Regions from separate parts of the Homo sapiens genome. Here region 1 is linked to region 2. The links are contacts of gene promoters, found by promoter capture Hi-C in blood cells and fetal thymus (Javierre and others, 2016). All regions are on one chromosome and are shown on one strand. The core of a region is centred on a gene start or on the middle of the fragment in contact, and the rest is flanking DNA. Distances in the headings are between cores, read along the strand shown.

What was found. The method cuts DNA at HindIII sites, captures the fragments that hold promoters and counts their contacts. A CHiCAGO score of 5 or more calls a contact.
Region 1: a fragment that was not itself captured here is called in contact with the fragment with the promoter of TMEM266 in region 2 in 2 of 17 cell types (M0 macrophages and M1 macrophages); the score reaches 7.2 in M0 macrophages.

Annotation. Positions count from the first base shown.
Region 1 is chr15:76,151,826-76,155,243 of GRCh38, reverse strand. The region is part of intron 3 of TMEM266 (transmembrane protein 266); the gene reads right to left. Among named protein-coding and RNA genes, the nearest start is that of TMEM266, 94 kb to the right of the region's middle. RefSeq lists an enhancer at 2,949-3,418. The HindIII fragment of the contact is 6,508 bases long and covers 1-3,418 here.
Region 2 is chr15:76,058,348-76,061,728 of GRCh38, reverse strand. It overlaps TMEM266 (transmembrane protein 266), which reads right to left and starts at 1,744. Exons shown (of 11, transcript NM_152335.5): 1 at 1,713-1,744. It also overlaps a transcript of NRG4 not described here. RefSeq lists a silencer at 2,702-2,751. The HindIII fragment of the contact is 3,394 bases long and covers 203-3,381 here.

The sequences.
Region 1 (3,418 bases), core at 502-3,001, 94 kb before region 2:
GAAGAGCTAGGCATCCTGAAGTGGCAGCCACAGCACCAGCCCAGGAGGCCACACTTCTGGCTCTGCCTTCAGCCACCCTGGGGCCCCGAGTGAAGGCTCCTCACCACTGTGGCCTCCGCCTCTGCCTCCCCATGTATAAACAGGGATAATGCTCCTGAACTCACAGGTCACTAAAGTTAAATGAGGGAACTAATCTGCCCTGTAAAGACAATGCAGCTGAAATGGATTGGTGATGATGACGACGATGATGATAAAATATCTGATGGTCCGAACATGGGGTTGGGAAGGGGGCTGTGCCCTGAGGCGCCCCCTTCTCTCGGAAGGAATAATGTGAATGCTTCAAGGAGACTTCTTCCTCACAGTCCATCCAGGGAAAGCCTGAAGGAGTCCCCCGCCATTGGAAGGACAGACAAAGCTCACAGCTCTTCAAGAAACCTGGCAGGACACTGGGCTTATTCACATCATTCTGAATATTTTCTAACTCCTCTGGGAATGATAGGCCCCCGTCCTCAACTCTGTGGGGAATGCAAAGACTGGTGTCCAGTCCCCAAACTCAGGGAGCTGCTCCCAGAAAGACAGGTAGGAGGACATCAACAGGCAAAGGAGGAAGAGGAAGAGGCCTTGTTGGATGGGGCTGGGGATGGTCGATGTGAACCCCGCATGGTCCAAGAGTATGGGGCAAGAGATGAGGAAATCAGCCAGGTCAAAAGAGAGGGTTTTCCATTAAGGGACAAGCAGAAAACAGGAGGAGAATGGTCTGTGGGGGCCAGATGGTGAAGGCCATCAATGAACATCCCCATCGCCCACTCCAGGTGGATTTCGAAGTCCATTGCAGAACCACATCTTTCTGCTTTCATGCCGGCACACAGGGGCCAATCACCAAGCAAGGGGCTACAGAGGAAACCCCAGACTGAAACTGGGAGGAGCTCAGGAGGGTTGCCAGATCAAGCGCAGTATGTCCAGTTACATCCCAACTTCACATAAACAATGAGCAATTTTCTAGTATACCCTAAACATTGCATACAACAGACTCATACTAAAAAATGATCTGTTGCTTATCTGAAATCCAAATTTAACTGGGAATCGTGTATTCTTATTTGGTAAAGTTGGCAGCCCTAAACTCAAGAGCCAAGGGGTCCGGAGAGGGCCTGGTGAGGGCGGCTGTGATTTGATCAGAGAATGCATGGGAACCCTGGGATGCAGGCAGAAAGCCAGGATGAGCTGGGGAAAAGCGCATGGGAAGGCCATCTGTCCCGAAGGGGCAGGAGGGAGGGACCTGGCCAGGGAAGCCAGGTGCTCAGATGACAGCTTTGGCCCTGCTGGGCTGGAGGCTCCCAGAAGCCTAAAGCTGCTGCCCGCAGCAGTGCCAGCGGCACAGCGCTTCCATCCATTAACGAGCCTTTGCATTTTAAGATATCTTTGGCTATCATCACTTGGCCACCCTCCTCACCTCCTGATTCTTCCTTCCGGCCTCACCTACTCCCCCTGCTTCTTTTCCCACGATGTGACATTCCTGCCTCCCCTTTTGCCAGCCCCATTTTCATCCTTCACACCTCTCACCCCAAGTTCACACCCAGCCTCCAGCCGCCTCAGCGCCCCCGGAAGCCGGTTCCCCTCCTGCCCTCTGCCTGCTCACTCCTCCCCCACAGCTCTAGCATGGTCTTTTCTAGGGCCCAAGGACACCTGGCTCCAATTCCACATTCTCCCCAATGCCCATTACCGTTGTCTGCGGCCCCTAAAACTGATGGCATGTCATTGTCATTTGAAATCTGAGCCAAGCACCTTCAGGCGGTTATGAATAAAAAGGGCAGCTGCCAGGGCCATCTGCCTGGGCTGGCCAGCAGGAAGCCTCGTCTTCACGTTCCACGGAAGGTGCCGGGCATTTGTTCACCTTCGTGCCTTGGACATCCCTAAGACACTGCTCCTTCTACCCCAGAGGAGGGTCCTGAAGGGAGTAGGGAATGAAACGAAGCATTGTATTCAGGAGCACTAGTTCCATATATTCAGTTCCCTATCAACAGGAGACTCAGACCTTGACCTGCCTCCAAGGGAGGAAAAGCCAATTTATATTGCTGTTTAAAATGTCGTTTTTTTCTTCTTTTTTTTTTTGTTAGAGAAACTTACTAACCATATCAGGTGGTTAGGAAGCTGCAGGAGGTGGGCGTCTGGAGTTACCTGTGGTCTGAAGTCAGCCCATAGTTGGCCTGGCCCTGACACCAGAGCACACTCCTCAGCCTCAGGGAAGAGCCAGGTAGAGGACTGGGCAGATGGCAGGATTCGAATGCCAGGCAGGGGATGACGGCCTTGAAGTCAAATGAACGCCGCCCCCACCATCAGCTAAGGTAGGCAGCGTGATCAAGAGAGGCGAAAATCCCTGCTCTTGGGCAGGTTACACTCTAGTGGGAGAGAGGGTCAGGCAATCAATACAACAGGTGCTGGTGTGATGGGTACTACAAGGAAGACACGCAGAGCTGGTGGAGGGATTAGGACGGGTAAAGGATGAGTTGACATTTTAAATATGGTGGTCAGAGCAGGCCTCAGTGAGAAAGCGACATGTGAGAAAGCTGATGGGGGTGAGGGGACAGCGATCCAGGCATGGTTGAAATGTACACTAAATAGGGACTGTTTCTGGTAAAATTCTATTCAGCCCCGAAGTACCTCCAGTATGAGAAACACCAGGGTGATGGGAGCCAGGAGCTGGACCGGGAGGAGGATAGGGCTTCCCCCTTCAGCAGGGGGTATAGCTCACCACCCACCACCAGCTAGGGCAGATGCTGCTGGTGCAGCCACAGCCCTTGGCACAGCCAACACACAGCACCCAAGAAACCCGAGGCAGCTGCACAATCAGGCCTGTGCCACGCTGCTCTGGGCCTGTCCTTTCATTCTCACGCCAGCTCAGTTGTCCCCTGCCCACACTCTGCCCTCAGCGACCCACCCCTCCACTGTGCCAGTCTGGGAGTGAGTTCGTGCAGGTCTCCTTGTTGGGGGTACCACTTGCATCTTGCTCTGTGCACCCCCTCCTCTTGGTAACCCCAGGGCAAGGCACATGGGGGTGACTCGACGGAAGTGGAAGGACAGAAGACCACTGTCAAGGAAAAGATGGTACCCAGGGGATACAGTGGCTGGTGAGGCCTGGCTGCCTTGGAGCAGGGAGCCATGGAGACTGGGGGTGGGATCTGCCTCCAGGTCAGTGGATCTCAGCCCAGCTGCACACTAGAGCACCCAACAGAGCTCTTAAGAACTCCAATGCCCAGGCTGCACACCAGACCTCCTGAACAACAACCTCTGCGGGAGGACCCAGGCCTCCTCAGATGACTCCAGTGTGCAATCAAGGTGGATGGAAAACCGCTGTTCCAGGTCCTCGATACTCAGTGGAATCTACAGAGCAGCAGCAGCAGCATCACCTGGCGCTTGTTAG
Region 2 (3,381 bases), core at 495-2,994:
TTTTTAAACTCAACTCCTTGTGTGTGAGAATTAAATGGAAGCACATCTTGGACCCCACTTTTTATAGGTTTAGTGCCACCTCAAAAAATTCCATACTGATCCATTCTGAAACAACTGCTTTTCTTACTGGAAAGCCACAAAGTTGGTGCAGAATCTATGAAATGGAAAATTAGACCCAAGCCAACATGCTCATGCATAAGCTTGATTTTAATGAAAAGGTACACGGAGCAGCCGCACCTGGAGGAAAAGCCCCCTCAGGGCTCCCCACCTCCAGTATCCCCATGTGCTTGAGTTTGCATCCTTACCCTGTCCCTGACTGTGTGACCTTGGGCAAGTTAGTTAACCTTTCTAAGTCCTGGCTTGTTCATCTTCAACATGGACATAGCAGGTTTGCTGTGAGGACTAAATGAGCTCATACACAAATAGTTTTAGCTCAGTACCTGGTACATATGAACATTTAAGAAACATGTCCTTCTCGTGATTAGATGTGACACTCTGACCATTTTAGAAGCAATTACGGTTCAGCTATCATATCCCAACATCTTGTGATAACCATTTTCATTTTTTGCTTCTAGCTCTTACTATTCTTTTCATCACAATATTTTAGGGTGGAGGTATTTGGGGGAGGAGGTAAGCAGTTATATACATCCCATTTTCCCACTGTTGTTCAAAGCAAGGTGAAAAGCCAGGGAAATAAACACATGCACTGAAGAGAAATTCAGTCTTTAGGATATGATGTGATAGGTGTATGGAATATAAACAAATCATATAATTTCAACCTCTCACATATAGGGCATCAAATCATAGGTAGGTCTTATTTTAAAAGAAAAGCCAAGCAGCATTAAAGAGGATAGAGGGAACCCATATGGGCCTATTGCTAGCTCAGTATTGGTGACTGTGAAACAGGGATGGGTGAGCTAGATTACGGGGGTGTTTCATGGGGTCTGACTTCCAACAGGTGGCTAGCTTTAGTCATGTTCAGATGCAAAACCGTAATGAGTTTGAGTATGCAAGTCCCAGGGATTCTGTTGAAGGCCATCTTTTCTCGGCCATCAAGGGAGACAATTTTCTAGGTTTAAGCCTCCCTGGCAAGTTAGCAAGCAGGGAACTGCCTGCCCTAGCTTGCACCTGTCCCCTGAAGGGGATTCTGGCCTGACGGTGAAGACCCACCATCCCTTCCAGACAGCCCATTCTGCCGCTGGGGCACCTCCCGACAAACGGGGGAAGCCCACTAGGAAGTGGTCACGACCAACCAAGCCACAAATCCTCAGGGTGTGGGATTTCCACCTCTATACCACGTCTGAAAACCGAAAATAGGCGCCCGCTTGCCATACTGCAATGGGATTCCCCCCAGCAGCAACCCCCCCCTCCAGCTTGCATGTTTTATTAATAAATGCAAGATGGCACACGGAGGCAAAGAATGGGAGGTAAGGCATCTGCAGCTGGACCCGAACCAGGGCAGTTTGCAAAAATAAATAAGAAGCATGTGACAAGAAGCAGGTCTCCAGGCTGGAGCTGAAGCCCTGGGCTGCCCCACGCACCCTCGCCTGGCTCCCCCGGCCAGGGGGATGAAGGTCAGCGGCAAGATCCCAGCCCTTCCGAGCACGCATCCTGCAAACCTTGACCGGTCCCCCCACCCCCCGCCCCGACCACAAGACTCGGGCAGTGAGGCAGGGGAAGCTCTGGCCGCGGCCGGCTGCGAGGACACATACCTGCTGCCCGGGCTCGGGATTCGCTCGGCTCTGCAGCGGCGCCGGCCGCGGCTCGCGCTCCCGGGGCTCCCCTCTCCGCCCCCCCGCCCCCTCGCGGCCCCGCCGCTCCCTCCGCCCCTCCGCCCACCGCGCTCGGGGGCGCGCGCGAGGCCTCGCGCCGGCGGCTTGGCCGAGCCCGCGCCTGCGCCCTCGCCTCCCGCCGGCCGCGCGCGCGCGCCCCCGAGGCTGCGGAACGGCGGCGCGGCTGTCTAGGAAACCGCGGCGTCGGCTGGCAGGGGCTGGCGGCCTGAGCTGGGCAGGGGGCGGAGGCGGGGGCTCGGCTGTCTCCGGGGCTGCCACGCAGAGCGGGCTTCGTGGCGTGGGTGAGGGGGTCGCGGGGCAGGGTCGGGGCCTGAGTGCGAGCGTGTGGAGAGGCGAGGGGGCCGCGAAGGGTGGGTTTGACGGGGACGCAGGCGGGGCGCAGAAGCAACAAGTGCGGAGGCCGAGGGCGTCGCTCGGGGAAGCGGAGGACCCCCGCGGGATTTCGTACAGCTGAGAATGGGAACCTCCCGTCGCTTTGGCGCAGCGCTTTGCAGTTTCCAGAGCTCTTTCCCAGTTGCTCCGTTTCATCCGCGCGGGGCGCCCGGTGAGGGAGCGGATGGCACGCAGTGCCCGCTGCGCTTGGAGGCCACCGAGGGGAAAACACCTCTTTCTGTGTGGCCGGAGTCATAGCACGGTCAGAGTGCCTTGACTCTCAGTTGGCTGCCTGGGAGAAAAATACCTGTCAGTACATTCATTTGATGGCCTCAGCTCAGGACCCTTGTAGGACCGTGTTTCTCCTCTTTTTCCGTTTTTCGTTATCTGACTCTTAAAAAGGCTTTTTACACGTCCCCATCTCCTTTCCCCGTGAAATCCCAGTACCGCAGATACACTGTCGACCTGCTTATGTGCTGTATGTGTTATCCGTGCTTGATGCATAAAAAGTAACATTGCGCCCCTTGGAGGCAGCATCGCCCCGGTGGAGAAGCCTGTCCTAGGGCCATGATTGCCAGTTACCGGGTGGGTTAAACGGAACCACTGAGCAATCTGGATGCACCCACAGATATTCTCTGTGGTTAAAAAAAAAGTCCTCACCCATAATGGGTACTACTCTAATTAATGTTTGCAAGGGCTGCTGTGAATACGGCCATTTAAGCAGCTTCTGGATTCATAGTAGCTTATTATCGTTTGTCTTCTCCACCAATTCTTGCTAAAAATATAGCCATTTTCCTATAGGGTGTTGCGATTTTTATCTTAAAATATTTGAAAAGATGGGAAACCCTTGTTTCTAGGACACGGAGTTTCAGAATGGCTTTTGGCTCTGCAGATAGGTTTGATTTCTGATTCTTGTACCTCTTCTAAAGTGTTTTTATTTGATTAGGTCCAGTTGGCCTCCCAGGAATGTCCTTTGTCTTTTCTTCCTGCCGTAGCTTTTTTAGTATGGATAAAATGAAAATGGTAGAGTTGAAGGACTTCAAAACCACCTCTTGGAATTGCCCCACGGTCTTGGACTACCTTCCCTGGATTATACGGGAATATCTATACAGGGAGTATCTACTTTTGGCAAACTGAGAAAAAAATGTAAAATTTCTTCAGATCCTCCTTCGCCTTTCAGCATTTCCTACTCATCTCTAATCTCTAATGGTGGAAT